Linked DNA regions of Homo sapiens: all the other regions are linked to region 2. The links are contacts of gene promoters, found by promoter capture Hi-C in human tissues and cell types (Jung and others, 2019). All regions are on one chromosome and are shown on one strand. Each heading gives the region's core, a stretch centred on a gene start or on the middle of the fragment in contact. The rest is flanking DNA. Distances are from core to core; before and after follow the strand shown.

Evidence for each region. The method cuts DNA at HindIII sites, captures the fragments that hold promoters and counts their contacts. A contact is called where the count stands out against the background at its distance.
Region 1: a contact is called between a fragment that was not itself captured here and the fragment with the promoter of RHBDL2 in region 2, in 5 of the 25 tissues and cell types used here (H1 embryonic stem cells, IMR-90 fibroblasts, dorsolateral prefrontal cortex and 2 more).
Region 3: a contact is called between a fragment that was not itself captured here and the fragment with the promoter of RHBDL2 in region 2, in 2 of the 25 tissues and cell types used here (bladder and stomach).

The regions. Positions count from the first base shown.
Region 1 is chr1:39,005,943-39,010,692 of GRCh38, forward strand. It overlaps AKIRIN1 (akirin 1), which reads left to right. Exons shown (of 5, transcript NM_024595.3): 5 at 1-117. Among named protein-coding and RNA genes, the nearest start is that of AKIRIN1, 17 kb to the left of the region's middle. The HindIII fragment of the contact is 7,880 bases long and covers 1-4,750 here.
Region 2 is chr1:38,939,409-38,944,007 of GRCh38, forward strand. It overlaps RHBDL2 (rhomboid like 2), which reads right to left and starts at 2,422. Exons shown (of 8, transcript NM_017821.5): 1 at 2,274-2,422. The HindIII fragment of the contact is 22,458 bases long and covers 1-4,599 here.
Region 3 is chr1:38,852,305-38,857,337 of GRCh38, forward strand. It overlaps RRAGC (Ras related GTP binding C), which reads right to left. Exons shown (of 7, transcript NM_022157.4): 2 at 4,575-4,778; 3 at 3,404-3,603; 4 at 70-184. Among named protein-coding and RNA genes, the nearest start is that of RRAGC, 5.0 kb to the right of the region's middle. The HindIII fragment of the contact is 4,658 bases long and covers 1-4,612 here.

The DNA.
Region 1 (4,750 bases), core at 359-2,858, 66 kb after region 2:
GAGAGCTGCTATAACCATTTCCCCAGTTCAACATTGCATTGAAAATTTATGGACCTTTAAAAAAAAAAGCCCAACAGTGATTTTTTTTTAATAATTAAAGAATGATTTTACTTTGTATTTGAAGGGTGATTTGTTTCATCTCTTCTTTTTTCAGGGTAGTCACTTGTTCCTAAAAGAGGAACATAGCAGTGGCTGTAATGGGAATGGCTCTGCAGTGGGCTAGTCACACCAAAATAAAGAAAGGGCAGCTGTGGGAGCCATCAGAAGCTGTGGAGGCTGGACTGGTAATGGGGAATGCTGCCCCACTGAAGTCTTGTTTTAGAGATCAGTGTGATGTGCTCACTTAACTATAAAGTGTCAGTCCCCATTCCAACTAAGTGGCTCCTGGCTGGGAAGTAGAGTAGGTTTCTCTAAGGAAAATGACACCTGCTCACCACCCGCCCCACTATACCACATTGTTGTTAGGCTATCATATAATGATAAGGTAGCCCTCTGAGGCCACAAGGTAAGACCAAACCACCAGGGCTGGGTTTTGGGATCCCCTCTAAAGAGACCACACATGTTTGTTTAGTGTTTATAATCTAGAGAAAAGACAACTGGGACAGAAAATGGGGACCTGGAAGGTAGGTCTCAGACTGGTGAATGAATTTTTCCCTAGACCTTGATTTCCAGAGCTTGAATTTAAGGGCACTCCCAGGTAGAGAAATGTCTTTGTCCCATGGAAATTATAGACCAAGGAAGACGTCAACCTATAAAAACGTATAAGGGTTTCTCAGGAACAGTGTTTTCAGAATATCTGGTGAGCTAGCTAATTTTTTTCTCTATTTTAATTCCAGTTATTATCCTTGATAAAGTCTTAAGCTTAAGAGGAAAAAGTAAGTGTCCATCCTTGGGTCAGAAGTTAAAAGGAAGATCAGAGCTCCTAAGGCAGTGATAATTGTTAAGATCTTCCAAAGGGGAAGACCATCAGAGAGTACAAGAATTTAAGCCAGCGGGTGGCGCACGCCTGTAATCCCAGCACTTTGGAAGGCTGAGGGGCAGATCACCCGAGGTCTGGAGTTTGAGACCAGCTTGACCAACATGGTGAAACCCCATCTCTACTAAAATACAAAAATTAGCTGGGCGTAGTGGCGGGCGCCTGTAATCTCAGCTACTTGGAAGGCTGAGGCGGGAGAATCAACCTGAAACCATGAGGCGGAGGTTGCAGTGAGCCGAGATTGTGCCATTGCACTCCAGCCTGGCAACAGAGTTAAGACTATGTCTCAAAAAAAAAAAAGGATTTAAGCCAATCTTTCAAACCTGGTGAATCTTCTTACCATGGAGGATTGGTTGGCTAGCATAGTAAAGGACTGACTGCGTGGTTGTAGCTCTGTAGTTTGGTTTCTTCTCTGCCACTAATTTGGTTATGTCAGCCTTGCCAGATTACTAAACTTGCTGAAACATGGCTTGCTTACCTGTAAAATCGAGGTTAATAGTAGGTTCATATTGGGTTTTGTTTTCAAATGCAAGAAATCATCCATGTAAAGAAAGTATTTAGCACAGCTTAGGGCATAGACTATGCACTTTACAATGTTAGAGCAGGTTTCTTTATAGTAGTCTTCGTCAGACCTGGAGACCCAAACTTTTGTGTCCCAAGTAGTGATTCTCAGCTTTCCAATATGAATAGCCCCTTGTTAACATAAAGATCTCACTTTTTCTTATTAGAATTTGTACCTTTGTTTGATTAAGGAAATAAAAGATGAATGACAAATGAATTTGGTAATGCCTTTCTGTGAATCTGTATTCAGTATGTTTTGTATGTTAATATAGCAGGGTCATACAAAAACTGGCCTATTTTTGTAAAGTTTTGTAGAAACACTGCTACACCTATTCATTTGTCTGTGGCAGTTTTCACACTAACTCCAGACTTGAGTAGAGTAGGTGCTACAAAGACCAAAGCATGGGCCACAGAGCTGAAAATACTTACTCTGTGTCCTTTTACAGAAAAGTGTGCTGGCCTTTGCACTAAAGCATGAAGAAACATTTGGGAAAAAGCACACAGGCTGGGCACGGTGGCCCATGCCTGTAATCCCAGCACTTTGGGAGGCCGAGGCGGGCAGATCACCTGAGAATGGGAGTTCAAGACCAGCCTGGCCAACATGGAGAAATCCCATCTCTACTAAAAATGCAAAATTAGCCGGGCGTGGTGGTGCATTCCTGTAATCCCAGCTACTTGGAAGGCTGAGGCAGGAGAATCACTTGAACTTGGGAGGTGGAGGTTGAGGTGAGCCGAGATCACACCATTGCACTCCAGCCTGGGCAACAAGAGCAAAACTCTGTCTCAATTAAAAAAAAGAAAAAAGAGCAACAAACAAGGCAAAGTTACTTCATTTATAATCCTTGTTGCATCATGAGTTGGTCAACACTTACCCTAATTTGTCATTCTTAAGGCTGTTATACCTTAAGTTGAGGTGTGATGAAAATACCCTTTTTGCTTACAAATAAAAACTGATTGCCAAAGTAAGTATGTCACAGAAAAAGCTATTGAACAACTGTTTAGAGCAATGATTCTCAAGGATGGGGACACAGAGCATACTATTTGGGGAGGGAAAAAGATTTGAAATGACCAATTTTATTTCAAGCATTTTTAATTTTGGAATTTTAGGTACAAAAATGGGTGTGAGAATTTTGTTTAACAGAAAATAGCATGGCTTTAAAATAGTTTGTAAAATACTGTTCTTAAGGAACAGAGTGTAATAGTGCCCATGGGCTATTAAAAAGGAACAGAAACTTCTCTACTACTCTGGAGTCCTTTGTTGAAAACAGATTGAGGGAGTGCTGTAGTCTTCCAGAGCTACAGTTAAACTGGATAAGGTTGGACACCTGGAAAAAAGCGTACATTAACCCACCCTAAACCATACTTTTTTTTTTTCTTTTTTTTGAGATGAAGTTTCATTCTTGTTGCCCAGGCTGGAATGCACTGGTGCAATCTCGGCTCACTGCAACTTCCGTCTCCCGGGTTCAAGTGATTCTCCTGCCTCAGCCTCCCAAGTAAGTGGGATTACAGGCATGCACCACCACGCCCAGCTAATTTTGTATTTTTAGTAGAGACGGGGTTTTACCATGTTGGTTGGGTGGGTCTTGAACTTCTGACCTCGTGATCCACTCGCCTTAGCCTCCCAAAGTGCTGGGATTACAGGTGTGAGCCACCGCACCTGGCCACCAAACCATACTTTCAAGTAAATAATTAGCACTTTATTGTACTGAAGGTGTGATATTTTGACAATTTAAAGTTCTGGTCTTCATGGGTCTTTGTTTCGTTTTACTTATTGCTGTATCTAATATCTCCTTTTTTTTTTTCTTTTTTGAGACAGAGTCTCAGTCTGTCACCCAGGCTGGAGTGCAGTGGCGCAATTTCAGCTCACCGCATCCTCCGCCGCCTGGGTTCAAGCAGTTCTGCCTCAGTCTCCTGAATAGCTTGGATTACAGGCGCCCGCCACCACGCCTGGCTATTGTATTTTTCAATAGAGAAGGGGTTTCATCATATTGGCCAGACTGGTCTCAAACTTCTGACCTCGTGATCCACCCGCCTCAACCTCTGAAAGAGCTGGGATTACAGACGTGAGCCACCGCGCCCTGTGTAGTATCTCATTTTATGCCTGGTTATCTGTGAGCTGGACAGTATATTTGAAAAATTACGGTGGGCATGGTGGCTCAGGCTGGGTGCGGTAGCTCACGCCTGTAATCCCAGCACTTTCGGAGGCCAAGGTGGGCAGATCATGAGGTCAGAAGTTTGAGACCAGCCTGGCCAATATAATGAAACCCCGTCTCTACTAAAAATACAAAAAATCAGCCGGGCGTGGTGGCGGGCGCCTGTAATCCCAGCTACTAGGGAGGCTGAGCCAGGAGAATCACTTGAACCCAGGAGGAGGAGGTTGCAGTGATTCAAGATTGCATACCATTGCACTCCAGCCTAGGCAACAAGCAAATCTCCATCTCAAAAAAAAAAAAAATTATTATTTGCAGGAGTGAACAGGACAAGAATGAGGGTATCTATCTCTAAGAAGGATTTATGTTGCCTGTGGCTGAGGATACTACCAAATCATCTGATGCAGGTTTCAGAAGGCTGAAAGTACCTCAGGTCATCCAGATTAAATATAACCTGGTGGCAAGTCCACTTGAGAACTGGTTTACTTTTTTTGTTTGGTTTTGTTGTTGTTTTTTGAGACGGAGTCTCACTCTTGTCACCCAGGCTGGAGTGCGGTGGCACGATCTCGGCTCACTACAATCTCTGCCTCCCGGGTTCAAAGGATTCCCCTGCCTCAGCCTCCGGAATAGCTAGGATTACAGGCATGTGCCATCAAGCACAGCTAATTTTTGTATTTTTAATAGAGACAGGGTTTCACCATGTTGGCCAGGCTGGTCTTGAACTCCTGACGTCAGGTGATCTGCCTGCCTCGGCCTCCCAAAGTACTGAGATTACAGGAGTGAGCCACCACGCCTGGCCGAGAAATGGTTTACTTTTGATTCACCTTTATCTTAAAGGTGTAATTCTTTGGGATCCCAATTTAAGGTGTCTGTGGTGAGAATTCCCACCATTAGCTAGCCTTAGGTTTTGACTTTTGTCCAGTCCTTTGAGGCTGCTGAAAGACTTCTAAAAGTGCAGCTCAGGTGTCCAAGAACTTCTTCCAGATTGGCAAATGCCTTAAAGGAAAAAGCAGCTCTGACTGTTAGGCTTAGCTCTGCTTTCTCCTCACTTAGACTTTGGTTC
Region 2 (4,599 bases), core at 1,172-3,671:
CCCCACACTTTGGGAGGCCAAGGCAGGTGGATCACTCGAGTCCAGGAGTTCAAGACCATCCTGGGCAACATGATGAAACCTTGTCTCTACCAAAAATACAACAACAACAACAACAAAAGTTAGCTGGGCATGATGGTGTGCACCTATAGTCCCAGCTATTCAGGAGGCTGAGGTGAGAGAATCAACTGAGATGGGGATGCCGCCACTGCACTCCAGCCTGGGCCACAGAGTGAGGCTCCACCTCAAAAAAAAAACCAAGTAGCTGAGACTACAGGTGCACACCACCACACCAGGCTAATTTTGTTTTATTTTTTGTAGAGAAGAGGTCTCACTGTGTTGCCCAGGCCAGTCTCAAAGTCCTGGACTCAAGCAATTCTCCCACCTTGGCCTCCTAAAGTGCTGGGATTACTACGGCTGGCGTGAGCCACCGTGCCAGGACTTCTTTTTTTTTTGAGACAGGGTCTCGCTTGTTGCCCAGGCTGGCTTTGAACTCCTGGCTTCAAGCAATCCTCCTACCTCAGCCTCCCAAAATGTTGGGACTACAGGCATGAGTCACCGCCCCCAGCCTGGTCTTTCTAATACAGAGAAACTTGAAAGACAGCAAGCACCAGAGCAAAAAGCATGGAGTTTAGAGTCTGACCTAGACTTGAATTCTGGATCCATTACTTATTAGCCATGTGACCTTAGGCAAATCCCTTAACCTGTTTGTATCTTCATTTCCCCATCTATAAAATAGGGTTAATAATAATATCATAAGAGGATTATGATTAAATAAGAGAATGCATTTAAAAGCCCTTAGCCTGCATCCATAGTTTAGGAATTGGTGGTTCCCATCACTTGCTCAGTGTTGAGTGTGCAAATTCAGAAACACAGCATGTCTGGACTCAGCCCTGGTCCAGTATTTTTACCACAAACCAGCACCTGACACCTTCCCTAATCCCATGCCTATGTGGCTCTCCCTTCTTTTTTATTTTATTTTTTAAAGACAAGGCCTCACTTTATTGCCCAGGCTGGTCTCGAACTCCTGGACTCAAGGAATCCTCCCGCCTCGGCCTCCCAAATCACTGGGAGCGAGCCATGGAACCCAACCTTCCCTCTCCCTTCACCACTCCACCCGTCACTGGCCAGTTCTGTTTACACGCTGCCTACGTGCTTTCAAGGCCAGGGGTTGTCTAGCATATCTTTACAAGCCTAAGGTGAGGGAGTTGCTGGTTAGGGAGAGGCATGGCAAGAAGGCAGTCAAAGAGGAAGGGAAAAGCACAGGTGTTTAGGAAGGCTCCACAATGAGCCTGGCACCCAGCTTGGTATTCAACATGCATTGTTCCCTGTCATCTTCATAAAAATATCATTTTGAGCTGGCCGCCGTGCCTCAGTTAACTCAGGAAGCTGAGGCAAGAAGACTGCTTGAGCACAGGAGTTTGAAGTTGTAGTAAGCTATGATCAGCCACTGCACTGCAGCCTGGGCAAGGTAGCAAGACCCTGTCTCTTTAAAAAAAAATTATAGCTGAGGAAACTGAGGCTCAGGAGGTAAACAGGAGATATGGGATAAAAAGCCAAGTGTCTTTGTGACTCCAAAATAATTTTCTGCTCTGCCATGCTGCCCACCAGCTTGTAGATGACCATCAAATGTTTGAGCAATAAGTTTCAGTTTTCTTATTCCCAAGAGGAGCAGAAATTGCGCAGCCCTCCCTCCAGAGAATCCAGGTATATGCTCAAACAGTGATGAATAAACAAATGAACACTAATGAATAAATGAAAGATTGAGTGAAATCTCTCTGATACCCACACCAGGAAGAAGGAAACAAATAACTCTGGAGGAGCCGCCTTGCGGGTAGAAGTGGAGACTGTCTCCCTGGCTGTGGTCTCCAGTGTCCAGGTCAGCAAAGGGCTAGGAACTGGCTTAGTTGGAGTTAGAAAAACTTAGGAGGGTAGGGGGTGCTGGGGAGAACGTGATGGCTGGAGGGAAAGCCAGTGTGAAGGGCAGGGAAGAGGAATGGAATTACTCTGTCCTCATCCTCAGCCCTTCCCTGCCATTTCCCTCGGGAAGATAGCCCCTGACTCCTGGCCCAACATGCTGCCAACTTTTAAAATGAAAGTAGCAGGATCCAAAGCGGCCACACCAGGAGGTCACTCCAGAAGGGGGGTTACCAGCGAAGCACCCCACATGTCCCTCCTCCTTCCTGCACAGCACCCCTCGGCCCTGCACTTCCTGCTGCCGCCCCCTTGTCCTGACATAGGACTCCCTCCACTCCCTCCCAGCTCCCACATCTTACCCTGAAAGACCAAGGTAGGGGCGTCCCAGCCCACGCCCTCCGGTCCTTGCGTTCCAGGCTTCCTGGGCCAAGGGGTTGCCCGCTGCCCTGAAGATCCCGCTCTGCCAGGCGCTCCTCCGTCCCTCCCCAAACAAAAATCCTCCAGACAGGTTCCAAAGCTGCCCAGCCCAGGAGGAGGGAGGCTGAGGAAATCCCCTCCCAGCTGGGCTGGGCCGGCCTGCTTGGCAGTCTTGCTCCTGGGCTGGCCCTGGATGAATGAGTCCTCCTCTTCGCCTGCTTGGGTCTTAGCCAGGGAGCCGGTGGCAGCCTCTGCTCTTTCTCCAGGACACTGAGCTCCATTCCTCCTCCAAGTCCTGCCCTCCTGCTTCATGCCTGGGTCCCCTGCTCTCCACTCTCAGCTCTCTGACGCCTCAACCGGGTGGTCTCTATCACTCTGCATTTGGTTATGCTCCAGTCTGAAGCCAGGCCTGTACTGGGCACCAGGGTGGGTGACTTGACGATCCTCAGCAGAGATTTAGTCCACAGAAGAATTGGTGACACCATGGCCCCTGGTGAAATAGCTTTGCCAGCTCTGATTATTCATTCAAAGCATTTTGAGAATAACTGGCCTTGTGTGAGGCCCTGAGGATGAAGAGGTAGATTAACGGGGTCCCTGACCTCCTACTCTACTAGGAAGACAAAGAATGAAGCTCTAAGTAGACGCTGCTCAAGATTCAGGCAGAAGGTGGCCAGGCATGGTGTCTCACGCCTGTAATCCCAGCACTTTGGGAGGTTGAGGTGGGTGGATCACCTGAAGTCGGGAGTTCGAGACCAGCCTGATCAACATGGAGAAACCTCATCTCTACTAAAAATACAAAATTAGCTGGGCATGGTGGTGCATGCCTGTAATCCCAGCCACTCGGGAGGCTGAGGCAGGAGAATCGCTTGAACCCGGGAGGCGGAGGTTGCAGTGAGCCAAGATCACGCCATTGCACTCCAGCCTGGGCAACAACAGCGAAACTCGGTCTCAAAAAAAAAAAAAAAAAAAAATTCAGGCAGAAGGGACCAGAGAGGAATCCCCCTGTGTGGAAGTGTTCTGGAAAAGCTCCTAGATGACATGACATACAAGATGGGTTTTGAAAGGTGAACAGGGGTTTTCCAGAATTGTAAGCGGGGAGCACACAGAAGGGGAGCACAGGCTGACAGAAAAGGCCATGGGAAGGGACGGAATTCAGCAGGAACTACTCAAAGTTCAGAATTGTGAGCAGGGAGTGTCAGATCATGAAGGGCCTTGTGTGCCTTGGTAAACAGTTTGGACTGTGTCCTATAGGTTCTGGGGAGTCATAGAAAGATTGTTTGTTTGTTTGTTCGTTTGTTTGTTGCAATACAGGGTCTCTCTGGGAGGCAGAGGTTGCAGTGAGCCGAGATTGCGCCACTGCACTCTAGCCTGGGCAACAGAGTGAGACTCCATCTCAAAAAAAAAGAAAAAAGAAAAAATAGGATCTCTCTCAGTTACCCAGGCTAGAGTGCAGTGGTGCACTCATAGCTTGAAGCAGCCTTGAACTCCTGGACTCAAGTGATCCTCCCACTTCAGCTGCCTGTGTAGCTGGGACTACAGGCACCCACCACCATGGTCAGCCAGTTTTTAAATTTTTTGTAGAGATGGAATTTCACTCTGTTGCCCAGGGTGATCACGAACTCCTGGCCTCAAGAGATCCTCCCGCCTTGACTTCCCAGAGCGCTGGGATTACAGGTGGTACACCACACCCTGCTAGCTCACAGATAGGCCTTAAACAAGGGACACAAACTATCAGACTGCATTTAAAATAGATCACTGGAGCCAGGTGTGGTGGCTCACACCTGTAATCCCAGCAATTTGGGAGGTCAAGGCTGGAGGATTGCTTAGGCCCAGGAGTTCGAGACCAGCCTGAGCAACATAGTGGCACCTGTCTCTACAAAACAAATTTTTTTTAATTATCCGGGCAATGGTAGTGTGCACATGTAGTCCCAGCTATACTCCAGAGGCCGAAGTGAGAGGACAGCTTGAGCCCAAGAGGTTGAGGCTGCAATGAGCTATGATCACACCACAGCACTCTAGCCTGGATGACAGAGTGAGACCCTGTCTTAAAAAAAAAAAAATTCACTGAGACCTGCAGTGTAAAGAAGGGTTTGAAGGAGGCAAGACTAGAGGCAAGAAAACCAGTCAGGGTTGCATGAGTCAGGGCAAGTGATAATGTAGGCCTTATCAAGGCATTGGCTAGGGAGTGGGGGTGGGAGTGAGAGAAAGAGATTCAAGAGATGCTAAGGGAGTACCATTGATGGGACTTAAAGAGTAAGGGAGGAATCT
Region 3 (5,033 bases), core at 1,034-3,533, 87 kb before region 2:
AAAACACAAATATATTCCCAAAAATGGAATCAGAAGCTGCAGTGAATTAAATATAAATTGCTCACTTACTGATATAAAGATATTTAATAGGTTTTCCAAGGTCGGCAGTTGTGGAATGAGTTTCTGCACCACCTTACTAAAGGCTTCAAATATTGAATGGTCATAGATACTAGTCAGATAAAAGCTGAAAAACACAACATAGCTTGATTAATTTGAAAAATACCTTATGTTCTATGACAACTATTATAATACATAAAATTTTAAGTTTCTTAACATTTGATTTCAGTGAGTTCAATAAAGCCTCTTTATCTTGTCTACCATACCCATCACTCAAGATGACAAATACACTTTCCCACCTGGCTTCATCTCTTTACTGCATTTACACAGGGGGCAACTGAAGTAGTACTGAGAAAAGGATTTTCAGGTACATAAACTCCAATATTCACCGAAGTCTTTGCAATCTGATCCAAAAAGCTTTTTTTAAGCACATAACTGAGACCAAAAATAAGACTAAAACCGAGAAAACTAGAAGAGTTATGTGACATTTATTAAATAAGAACATAATTCAGGTTTCTACTAAAATGTCACCTCAAAAAGTTCTTTCCAGACCAGCCTACCTAAAATAGCACTCGTGTACCCAAGGCTTTCAACCCCTTTCCCCTAATTTGTTTTTCTTCACACCACTGGTAAGTACTTAAAACGATACTATACATTCATTTAGGTGCTTCTGAGCTGTGTCACTGAAAATGTTAAGTTCCAGGGGAAAGAGACTTTGTCAGTCTCGCTCCTAGCAGCAAGCCCACTTCCCTGAACAGTGCTCATAAGTATCTGCTGAATAAACAAATGAATACAATTGGTGTTTACAATTTATGTAAAGAGCATATTAAACAGGATGGGAGTCGGGACTCTACAGAGAATGGAGGAATCTACAGGAGTCTGGAGGCCTAAAAGGACTTACGGTGGAGAAGTAACACATGTAGATTCAATAAAACACGTATTTGAGAGGGAAGCCTTTAACAATTTAAACACTGTCAACAATTCTATCTGCTTTATAACTCAGGGAGTACAATCTTCATTATATAGTCGCATCCACCACACATTTATACGTATATATAACATCAGAGACACAGAACTTTATAGGTAATTTAAAGATACTTTCAGCTGGGCGCGATGGCTCACGCCTGTAATCCCAGCACTTTGGGAGGCCAAGGCAGGTGGACCACTTGAGGTCGGGAGTTCGAGATCAGCCGGACCAACATGGAGAAACCCCATGTCTACTAAAAATACAAAAAATTAGCCAGGCGTGGTGGCGCATGCCTGTAATCCCAGCTACTTGGGAGGCTCAGGCAGGAGAATCGCTTGAACCAGGGAGGCAGAGGTTGCGGTGAGCCGAGATGGCATCATTGCACTCCAGCCTGGGCAACAAGAGTGAAACTCCATCTCAAAAAAAAAAAAAAAAATACTTTCAAGGAGCTGACCTAAGAACCTAATCTAGCAAGACAGGGGTCTAATCTAGATGTAAGAGCACTGGAACAGGTAAGGCCAAGATGACCCCATAGATACTAGGGAGAAAGGAATATTTTAGTGTTTCCTGTAGGCCAAAAGGTGAGCAAAGAAAGAATGTCCCGCACCTTTGAGGCTTGAGGTAAATGGGGACAGGGAGAACCTGCAAGTCACAGGGCATTTTAGTAAACTGAGTTTCTAGAAACTGGAAATGAAAAGGAGCTTCATCCATAGGACTGCTAGTACTAAATAAAAGTCTTTTTTTTTTTTTTTTTTTTGAGACGGAGTCTTGCTCTGTCACCCAGGCTGGAGTCCAGTGGCACGATCTTGGCTCACTGCAACCTCCACCTCCTGGGTTCAAGCGATTCTCCTCTCTCAGCCTCCCAAGTAGCTGGGACTACAGGCACACACCACAATGCCCGGCTAATTTTTTGTATTTTTAGTAGAGACGGAGTTTCGCCATGTTGGCCAGGCTGGTCTCAAACTCCTGGCCTCAAGTGATCTGCCTGCCTCGGCCTCCCAAAGTGCTGGGATTATAGGCATAAGCCACTATGCCTGGCCTAAATAAAAGCTTGATGCAACATTCTACTGAAGTTAACAAGGTCTAGGACCCTACATGGTACTGAGGAAAGGGATGGCATGTACCACTAGGGTGGGATGCCCTGGAAAGGAACACAGACACGGAGTAAAGAGAATCAGAAGGATCCCCATGGAGCACTGGGGAACACAGGACAAGAACGGCTCAAAATCCAGGTAAAAAACTATTAGCAGTGGATTCCCAAAAAAATAAGACTGAATTTTTGTGGAGAGCCACTTACATTTTCTCCTACAAACATTGCTGAATTTTTATTTTTTTAACATGAATTATTTTCAAATTATTTAGAAATTTAATCCAGGCAAACTAGAGGTCAATGAGACTTTTCGACATGGTTTCCTAGAAGAATAACTGAAAGATCTTGGAGCCTGAGACCCAGAGAATTTTAGGGGGAGGGATAGCAGTTAGCTTGAGCCCATAAAGAAGTCACAACAATAGAACGGGGACAGAGAAATAACTTGCTGTCTCTCTCCCCTTCTCCCTCTTTAAGCTACTTCTATCGTCAAGAGAATATTTTCTTGGGTACTTTTTAATACTCATTTCTACCTATATCACCAAATAAAATAAGATGTACAAAAATATTCCTCATACACTTTTAGAATGCAAATACACAAATCAATCCTATCAAGTAGGTATTATTTAATAATAATTTCTTAACAGTAGTTACAAACCAATAGTCCTCTAAATTTAATAGCAGCCTTATGCACATTTATAAGATAAACCCACCTAAGCCAAACTTTATAGAGTTTCATAAAAGTATAAAGTGTTTTAAAAGCTAAGATATATTACAGTCAGTCCAGGGGGGAGGTGGAAGGGAGCCAGCAGGAAAAATAAAAATGAAAAATAAAAAGAGTCAGTCCAGATTTGAAAGTGCACTCTCTGTATAAGGCTGTTCCTACTGAGAAAGATACTGTCTAAGACTCAAGCTAAAGACTTCCACAACAAATGTGACAGATTCACTTCACTGATGCAAGGCGGGGAAAAGTAATGAAACCAAGAGGAAGGAGTCCCAAAGCAGATTTATGCCATGAAGAAACAGCCTGACTCCAGTCTCTTGAGATGAATTTGGAAAAGCACCAGTGGAAACACTTCACATGACTTCAATCTCCAGGAAAACGCAAAAAGTGGGTAATTTCTCAATATCAGGCTCCCCAGACAGCCTGGAATTCAACAACAAGATCAAAAACATAAAAGATGTGGCAAAGGGCACACAGGTAGCAGAAAGCTATGGTGTTTGTAATGACAGAGATGGGAATACATTTACACCTTGTTCAGGGCTTTCATATCAAACACACATGTTGTTACCTAAGATGGAGTTTTTCTAGCCCAGCATCTGCAAGGTCATCATTGGCCCTTTGATGAATGTCCCTCTGTGTTTCTATTTTGTGATCATCAGACAGACCATCAACTTTGTGAATAAAAACCTCAAAATTCATGTCTGGGTTAACTTTGTAGGCTTTAGAAACAGTAATGTGAAGTCTTGTTAAAGCCTCCATGTAGTCATCCTGTAAGTCAGAACAAAATATTTTTTAAAATAAATCTTACAAAAGCCAAGTAATGAGTTAAAGCCTCAAACCACCTCTTTCCCCAACCACAGAAAAATACTATCCTAATTATCATCAATATTCAAACATTCAAATATACTATACTACTAAATAACTCTTCAATTGTCTCAAGATAAAAAAATTCAATTACCAAGTTAATGCTTGTAATTTTTAATATTAATTTAAGAAAGAAAAAAATGATATGAACATTTTTTCCCAACATAATTTTTTTAAGTAATCCCAGCTCTGCCATTTATTCAGTGTGTCACTTTAAGCAAGCTGCTTAAACTCTGATCTCAGTTTTCTCATCTGTAAGATCAGAATTACAATACCTACCTAACAATATTGTGAAGCTTAAATTAATTAGGTCCTGTACGTGAAGGCACCCTCTGTAGAGCCTATCACTCAGAAAGCATTCTTAACTAATGCTTAAGCTTATAAAAAGTAAGCTTCTTAAAGGATAGGGACTTGCCCCATTCATCTCACTGACTGCCACATGCTAGGCCCTCCATAAATGTTTGTTGAGCTAAACTCAATTTTGACAATTAAGTAAACTATTCACTCTAATATCTACTGACTCAGTTCTCATATTCCTCTTTATGTTATGGGATGGGATATTTTCAGGGAATAACATCACTATTATTATAAAATTATTATAAAATATGGCAACCAATAAAAGTGGAAAGCCAATGTTAGCTGCTCATCAACTAGGACTCAAGGATGTAAACCATATCTCCTAATCATCTGATATTCTGTACCTGCACAATGCATGTCTGCTCCCAAAGCACTCTGCAACTGCATCTCTTACACTGTTAGGGAATCTACTGCCAAAGAGATAAGCTGCAACCACATGACAAAGAAGATAAACAACTTTCCTTTGTTTCTACATCTTTTTCCCACCAGGAAAGAGGAGTAAACACATTACTGACTACCTGTGCGTCAATGACGTATATCAATGCTCCTGTTCCCCTGAAGATCATCTCATAGTCAAAGGTTGGGTCAAAAAAGTCCATTTGCCCAGGAAAATCCCATATCTGGAAATTCACAAAGGAGCTATTGGAAATGTCATCCTTATAAATCTTGTTGGTACTTTCCAAAAAGAGGGTCTCGTTGGGTGACATCTTATGAAACACCACCTGTTAAAAGAAAACAGGCAATTTTATGACTATTAAACTTCAGAATTTAAATTTAAAATTCCACCCTGGTTTAACATTTAAACATTTGATCCCACAAAAAAAAATTTTTTTTGAAAAGTAGAAACTGAATGGTGAATCCATTGGTATTCACTATCCCTTTATTTTTGACAAAAGAAGACACCAAATTAATTTCCATTAAATCTATTTTGGAGCTAAATCTTTTCTCCTATGTTCTATGCACCATACTCAGTACTA